2 separate regions of the Homo sapiens genome follow, and region 1 is linked to region 2. Evidence: promoter capture Hi-C in human tissues and cell types (Jung and others, 2019). All regions are on one chromosome and are shown on one strand. Each heading gives the region's core, a stretch centred on a gene start or on the middle of the fragment in contact. The rest is flanking DNA. Distances are from core to core; before and after follow the strand shown. Region 1 overlaps UTP11 (UTP11 small subunit processome component). Region 2 holds the start of NDUFS5 (NADH:ubiquinone oxidoreductase subunit S5).

What was found. Contacts are between HindIII fragments. The study calls those that stand out against the background at their distance.
Region 1: a contact is called between a fragment that was not itself captured here and the fragment with the promoter of NDUFS5 in region 2, in 1 of the 25 tissues and cell types used here (dorsolateral prefrontal cortex).

What each region holds. Positions count from the first base shown.
Region 1 is chr1:38,021,439-38,025,640 of GRCh38, forward strand. UTP11 (UTP11 small subunit processome component) reads left to right here. Exons shown (of 8, transcript NM_016037.4): 7 at 1,261-1,371; 8 at 2,107-3,382. The coding sequence ends at 2,190. Among named protein-coding and RNA genes, the nearest start is that of UTP11, 11 kb to the left of the region's middle. The HindIII fragment of the contact is 9,293 bases long and covers 1-4,202 here.
Region 2 is chr1:39,024,144-39,028,245 of GRCh38, forward strand. It overlaps NDUFS5 (NADH:ubiquinone oxidoreductase subunit S5), which reads left to right and starts at 2,207. Exons shown (of 3, transcript NM_004552.3): 1 at 2,207-2,259. RefSeq lists enhancers at 2,039-2,288, 2,148-2,734, 2,735-3,320 and a silencer at 4,091-4,102. The HindIII fragment of the contact is 8,915 bases long and covers 1-4,102 here.

The sequences.
Region 1 (4,202 bases), core at 584-3,083, 1.0 Mb before region 2:
TGGATTGCAAGGATATTTTGTCTGTAACTTCGAGTGGGTAGACAACCCATGAGTGAGCTTTAGGAGGTCTGAGAAAACCCCCCTTTCTCACTGGTATTTTGTGCAGATAGGTATATGTGCTTGCACAACCTTTTACAAATGTGTATGTACATTTATCTCAAGAAACATCCCATGCTGGGCGTGGTGGCTCATGCCTGTAGTCCCAGCAATTTGGGAGGCCAAGGCAGGTGGATCACTTGAGGTCAGGAGTTCGAGACTAGCCTGGCCAATGTAGTGAAACCCTGTCTCTACTAAAAATACAAAAATTAGCCAGGCGTGGTGGCGGGCACCTGTAATCCCAGCTACTAGGGAGGCTGAGGCAGCAGAATTGCTTGAACCCAGGAGGCGGAGGTTGTAGCGAGCCGAGATAGTGCCACTGCACTCCAGCCTGGGCGACAGAGCAAGACTCCGCCTCAGAAAAAAAAAAAAAAGAAGAAAGATCCCAAAGCTTTCATCAGTTTCTCTGAGGTTGATGATTCCCCAAAATGTAAGGACCCCACTGATCTTTGAGGAGTCATTAGCAGTGAGAATTCTCAGGTGAGCTTCTGCTGAAAAAATTCTTCTGCTTTCTGAGTGGTAAGATTTTCAGGCACCAGCACACTGCCTGGGGACCCTTCTGTTGCCGACTCTTCTGTTGCTCTCCATTCACTTTGTATAGGGTTTCCAACACTGATTCATTCCTGCCATCATCTCAGGTGACTGTGGCACTCACACAAAGGTTGAAGCAGCTTAGTGTAGTAGTGGAAAGATTCCTGGGATTTGTGAGAGGGGGACGGTCCTGACTCTGCTCCAGGTGAGCTGTGTGTCCTTGGACCACTTCTTCTCTGGGCCTCATTTTTCTGCGTTTGTAAATGACGGGTTTCGATAAGATAGTCTACAGGGTTCCTTTTTTAATTTTTAATTTTTTTTTTTTGAGACAGAGTCTCATTATGTTGCCTACGTTGGTCTGGAACTCCTGGGCTCAAGTGACCCTCCCTCCTCAGCCTCCCAAAGTGCTGGGATTACTGGCGTGAGCCACTGCGTCTGGCCCAGGGTTCCTTTCAGCTCCAGAATGTGATGTTCCTAAAATGGGCAACGTTATTGTTACCACGTTATGTTGATTCTGGTGAAAGAAGGGAGTTGATGAAACTATGCAGTTGGCTTAAATGGATTAAGAAACAGTTTCTTACTCATTTTTGTCCTGTTCATTGTTCACTGAGAATGTGTGTGTTTCTTCTCCAGCGAATAGCTAAAGAAAGGCAAAAGCAGTATAACTGCCTGACACAGCGGATTGAACGAGAGAAGAAATTGTTCGTTATTGCTCAGAAAATTCAAACACGCAAAGATCTTATGGTGAGGAGAGAGAGCCTTAGGCCTCTTTTTTTTTTTTTCCCCCTTTTCTTTCTTGTAAAGGTCTTAACTCAGACTAGATTTCAGCTGTGTGTAAATCAACCCCAGTGAAAATGTCTGCTCCTCAGGGGCAGTGGTTTGAGCCAGTGTCTGTTACTCTGACAGTGTTGAAATGCGCCTTGATTAAGGAGGTAATAAGGGGGTTATTAGTCAGTGCTTTGGAACAGCAAAGGGTAGGATCGGGTAGCATATGAACTTTATAGCTTATGAGCAGCTCCCGTAACATTTAAACAGGTTAACAAAACAGTGCATGTCACTCATTGGTGTTTAAAAATAGACAACATTGTGTAGTTAAATAGCAGAGCTGAGGAATATAAGATGCCTCTTTCATATTCTTATCATTCCTCTAAATGTCAAATTCTTTAGCTTTGTAGATCATTTAGGTCAGCCTTTCTCAACTGGGGTTCCGTGAGAGAATTAAAATTATAATTTTAAATGAAACAACTACTTGAACACCTTTCTTCTCAGTTTTCCTAGGACTGTACACAGCTAGTACTTTCTAGATGCCTAGGGGAGAAGTTAATTCATTGCCTACAGTGGATGCCTTGGGCAGTAGGGCTGTGTCCGTTCTCAACTTTGAGAAGGGCTGAAGCAGGTGCTAATAGGTAGTTTATTAACCTTTCGATTTTACAAAACCATTTCCTTCTCTTTACTGATCACCTTTTTACTCTTTTGTAGGATAAAACTCAGAAAGTGAAGGTGAAGAAAGAAACGGTGAACTCCCCAGCTATTTATAAATTTCAGAGTCGTCGAAAACGTTGACGTGTTATAGATAAGCCTTGTCATTCTGTATCAAAAATCTGTTGTCGTTTTCTAGTAACTTCAAATTCCATTACTCCAAATGGCATGGTTTTCCGGTTTGTAACCATAACTAAATTGTCAGTCTGACATTTAATGTCTTTCTATGGACAACATTAAATCTCCCTCCCTTCTGTAATTGTTTTTGGATTGTGAAATTAGTCTTATTTTTATATACTTAATTTTTTTTTTCTTTGAGATAGGGTCTTTGTTGCCAGGCTGGAAGTGCAGTGTGTGATTATGGCTCACTGCAACTTTGAACTCCTGGGCTCAAGTGATCTTCCTGCATCAGCCTCTTGAGTAGCTGGGACCACAGACATGTGCCACCATGTCTGAGTAATGTTTAAATTTTCTGTAGAGACCAGGTTTTGCCATGTTGGCCAGGCTGGTTTTGAACTCGTGGCCTCAAGCGATCCTCCCACCTTGGCCTCCCAAAGGGCTGGGATTACAGGGATGAGCCACTATGCCCAGCCCATAATTTTTTTTGTTATGAAACATAGGATCTCATTACAGCAGATTTGGAAAGTAGATTAATTCATTCCTAATCCCAGTGCTTATTCAATAATAACAAATATTTATTGCATGCTTAACTGTGCTAGGAGCTAGAGCTGTGGAGGTGGACAATTACTGTGAGTAGTCTAGTTGATTTCCTCCATTTTGTAAAACGAGGCATCACTTTTTGTCCATGTTTTTGTGTTTTATAGTTACAGTAAACAATTTGATGTCCTACTTTTTTTTTTTTTTTTTTTGAGACGGAGTCTCGCTCTGTCGCCCAGGCCGGACTGCGGACTGCAGTGGCGCAATCTCGGCTCACTGCAAGCTCCGCTTCCCGGGTTCACGCCATTCTCCTGCCTCAGCCTCCCGAGTAGCTGGGACTACAGGCGCCCGCCACCGCGCCTGGCTAATTTTTTTTTGTATTTTTTTAGTAGAGACGGGGTTTCACCTTGTTAGCCAGGATGGTCTCGATCTCCTGACCTCATGATCCACCCGCCTCGGCCTCCCAAAGTGCTGGGATTACAGGCGTGAGCCACCGCGCCCGGCCGATGTCCTACTTTTTAATTAAATCATTAGCTCTTTCCCAGTTTGTTACATCACAAAAGTTTTTTACAGTAATATATGCTAGAGTAAACGTTAAAATAAATATTATTTTTAATGATTGCATAGTGTTTTATCTAGTGGATAGACTGATTTTACCCTCACTCATTCTTCTTTTATTGGCTATTCAGGTGGCTTCATAAATTATCCAAGGAGGAATTTTTTTCTCTTACTTAACAGCTGCAGATAGAAACTCTTGGAACAAGGAACCTACGGGAGCACCTCTTCCTTATTGATGAAGCTCAAATCAGTATAGGCCTGGCTGTGTCTCTGTCCTCTGCACTCCATGCCAACTCACAATTCCAAGGCTAGAATAGCTTGGTGCAGACCTTCACTCTGGGAATATGGACCCCTGGGTGTGTTGGCCAGCTTCTTTCTCTTCTCTGGTTCTCTCCTTCCTTTGTTTGCCCATATCAGGATTATAGGCCAAGGACAGTAAGGACAGGACTGAACATGCTTAGAGCAAACATGGGAGAACAGGGAGCGGGGTTCTGGGGGGCTTGCGTAGCCCTTACACCAAGGAGGGAGAACAGCCATGTGTGGATTGTAAGGCTTTAAAAGAAAATTGTTAATGCTTAATAAGTGCCCATGACTGTGAGCTTCCTGTACAAGCCTAGACTAGAAGCCTGTTTCCTCAGGGTGTACCCAGTGGAATTTAAATCAGGGGCCCTGGAAAACAGCAAGAAGGGTCAGGAAACAGAAACCAGTAGGTTTTGCCTTCAGGAAGGAAATGCTTCCCATTGTGTGTATGCACTCCCTTCTGGGGAGGTGCTGAGCTCAGTCAATGCTGAAAGTTTTAGAGACTTGAGGATCAAACCAGGGAAGGGACTCATCATAGTGATACTAGACAGGGGAGTGAGCAGACTAAGCAGCAGTCTGAT
Region 2 (4,102 bases), core at 957-3,456:
ATCTCAGCACATTGGGAGGCCCAGGCAGGAGGATCACTTGAGCCCAGGAGCTGGAGACCAGCCTGGGAAACATAAAGAGATACTGATCTCCACAAAAAATTTTTTTAAAGAATTAGCTTGGCCGGGCGCAGTGGTTCACGCCTGTAATCCCAGCACTTTGGGAGGCTGAGGCGGGCAGATCACGAAGTCAACAGATCTAGACCATCCTAGCCAATATGGTGAAACCTCGTCTCTACTAAAAAAAAATACAAAAATCAGCTGGGAGTGGTGGCGCACACCTGTAGTCCCAGCTATTCAGGAGGCTGAGGCAGGAGAATCGCTTGAACCTGGGAGGTGGAGGTTGCAGTGAGCCAAGATTGCACCACTGCATTTCAGCCTGGTGACAGAGTGAAGCTCTGTCTCAAAAAAAAAAAAAAAAAAAGAATTAGCTGGGCACAGTGGCATGTCTGTAGTCCCAGCTACTTGGGAGGCTAAGCAGGAGGATTGCTTGAGCCCTGGAGTTTGAGGCTGCAGTGATCTATGATAGCACTACTGCACTCCAGCCTGGGTGATGGAGTGAGACCCTATCTCAAATAAAATAATAATTATAATAAAGACTGCCAGGCACATGGTGGCATGCACATGTGGTCCCAGCTATTTGGGAGGCTGAGGTGGGAGGATCACCAGAGCCCAGGGAGGTTGAGGCTGCAGTGAACTGTGATTGCACCACTGCACTCCAGCGGGGCAATGGGAGTGAGAATCTGTCTCAAAAGTAATAATTATATATATATATATTTATATATATATATATATATATATATATATATATATATATATATATGTTCTAGTATTTTCCTCCCATACCTCCAATGTATAATATCTCATGCACCCTGTGGTCCACCCCCCAAAGACATACACACAACACTTTAGAGTCTCTGATGTAGTCAAAGGGAGTCATTGGAGGTTCTGGAACAGATGACAGGCATGGTAGCAGTTGATTCACAAACTGAAAGCTGAGACATCAAAGAACTGCGACTGCCTTGGAATGTTTCCCATGTGCTAGCCACCGCCTCAGTGCTTTATACATAAATCAGTTAATCCCTATAGCAAGCCTCCATTGTGAATACCATAATTATCTTAACAGACGAGGAGACTGAGGCACAATGAAGTTAAGAAACTTTCCTAGAGTCACACGAAATTGGTGGGGGCCTACTTTTTTTTTTTTTTTTTTTTTTTTTTTTTTTTTTTTTTGAGACTGAATCTAGCTCTGTCGCCAGGCTGGAGTCCAGTGGCGCGATCTCACCTCACTGCAACCTCCGCCTCCCGGATTCAAGCGATTCTCCTGCCTCGGCCTCCCCCCACTAGCTGGGATTACAGGCACTCGCTGCCACACCCAGCTAATTTTTGTATTTTTAGTAGAGACAGGGTTTCACCATATTGGCCAGGATGGTCTCGATCTCCTGAGCTTGTGATCCGCCCACCTCGGCCTCCCATAGTGCTGGGATTACAGGCCTGAGCCACTGCGCCCGGCTGGGGGCCTACATTTGACCCCACGTGGTGGTTTGGGCTCATAGTCCATGTGCTTAACCACTAGTGGGTAGGCAGGGAGCCAGTGTTCTTTCTCTCCTGTGACTTTGGTGAAGTCTCTCACCACTCAGTGTTGTCGTGAGCATGCTAGGCAGAGTGCAAGAAAGGAGCAAGAACTCACTAATGGCTAGGCCTTCCCTGTGTCTCTGTAATTGATGGGTTTGGGTTTTTTTTCCTTTCTCTCTCTCTACCTCCTCTCTCTCTTCTTCATCCTCTCTCTCTCACTCTCCCCCTGAGATAAGGTCTTGCTCTGTTGCCAGGGCTGGAATGCAATGGAATGGTGTGATCATGGCTCACTACAGCCTCAATCTCCTGGGCTCAAGGGATCCTCCCACCTCAACCTCCTGAGTAGCTGGAACCACAGGCATGCACCACCTCGCCCGGCTAATTTTTTATTTTTTGTAGAGAGGGGAGTTTCGCCATGTTGCCCAGGCTGTTTTCGAACTCCTGGGCTGAAGTGATCTTCCTCCCTCAGCCTTCCAAGGTGCTGGGATTGCAGACGTCAGCCACCGTACCAGGCCAACGGGCTCGGTTTCTATGGTTTTGTGGGGAGACGGCTGAGGGAAGGTCGGCTTCCGGCGTCGCGCTGCAAACGTCTCGCTGAGGTCATCCTTTACGGCAGGCGTCCGCGTCGCTAGCTAGTCGTTCTGAAGCGGCGGCCAGAGAAGAGTCAAGGGCACGAGCATCGGGTAGGTAGGGGCTGCTTATGTCCGCGCGGCAGCTTAGCTTAAGGACCTTCCTTCCGAGGTCTCTTTAACAGATTTCCTCTTGGCTTGCTGTGTGTCCCCTTCTCCCAGACCTGAACTCAGGGCGTGTTCCCTGCCCTCCCAGGCCGCTTCACCTCCACAGCTAATGGCACCGAAGCCTGGAGATTGCCGCTCTCTCCACTTTCCACATTTGTTTAGGTTTTTGCCGGACTAATGTTTTGGCTTTCTGTTTCTTAACCTAAAGTCTACGATCCTTATCCCAGCTTTCCAGGCTCTGCGTGATTTCGGCCCCGCCGGCCTCCTGAGCTCATTTCATTCTTTTCACCGTCATGCACGCTGCGCTCCATTGTCCCCCAAACATAGCCAGCACTTCCGGCTGTAACTCCGGGCTGTTGCCCAACTGGAACACTCTGCCCACTGATCTTCACTTGGCGAACTCGCAAGCCATGTTAAAGGCATTTTCAAGTCTCCGGGCAGAGTTCGTGCTTCCTCCTTCGAGCTCTTACCCACTCGTGTTCCTTGCAGTGTATTCGCAATTCCGAGTGTGTGTCTCTGGTGCTTACGTTGGAGCTGCTTTCCCCCGCATCTGAGTGCCTGGAACGTAACTACTCAGTAAATGATGACTGAGGGATGGGAAGGAACTTAAGAAGTTAAATTCACCTTTTTGTTGAGATGGAGTTTCGCTCTTGTTGCCCAGGCTGGAGTGCAGAGTGGCGCGATCTCGGCTCACTGCAGCCTCTGCCTCCCGGATTCAAGCGATTCTCCTCCCTGAGACTCCCGAGTAGCTGGGATTACAGGCATGCGCCCCCACGCCCGGCTAATTTTGTATTTTTTTAGTAGAGAGAGGGTTTCGCCATGTTGGTCAGGCTGGTCTTGAACTCGCGGCCTCAGGTGATCCGCCCGCCTCGGCCTCCCAAGGTGCTGGAATTACAGGCGTGAGCCACTGCGCCCAACTAAATTCACCTTTAAATCTACCATGAGTACACATTTATATTGATATTTGTGGGTGTGCGCGCGCTTCCTTTCAGTCATTTTAGGCAGTCAGGGTTTGTTTTTGTGTGTGTGTTTTTACATTTAACATTATTATGTATTTGCATGTAAATTTTTTTCCCTACTGTCTGTAATAGTCTACAAAGTAAGTCTTAACCCATTTCTTTCGCTCTGGTTTTTTTTTTTTTTTGAGACAGGATCTCGCTTTGTTGCCCAGGATGGAGTGCAGTGGCCAGGTCATAGCTCACTGAAGCCTTGAACTCCTGGCCTCAGTCTCCTGCCTCAGCCTTAGGAGTAGCTGGGACTACAGGCGCACATACCACCACAAGTGCCTTTTTTTTTTTTTTTTTTTTTTTTTGAGACAGAGAACCTGACCAAAGGATCCAAATTCTTTTTTTCTTCTTCTTCTTTTTTTTTTTTTTTTTTTTTTGAGACAGAGTCTCGCTCTGTCGCCCAGGCTGGAGTACAATGGCGGATCTTGGCTTATTGCAACCTCTGTCTCCCCAGTTCAAGCAGTTCTCCTGTCTCAGCCTCCCGAATAGTTGGGATTACAGGCATGTGCCAACACGCCCAGCTAATTTTTTTGTATTTTTAGTAGAGACGGGATTTCACCATATTGGCCAGGCTGGTCTTGAACTCCTGACCTCAGGTAATCCACCCGCCTTGGCCTCCCAAAGTTCTGGGATTACAGGCATGAGCCACCGCGCCTGGCCCACAAGTGGCTGATTTAAAAAAAAAATTTAGGCCAGGTGCAGTGGCTCACACCTGTAATCCCAGCACTTTGGGAGGCCAAGGCGGGCGGATCACCTGAGGTCAGGAGTTCAAGACCAGCCTCGCCA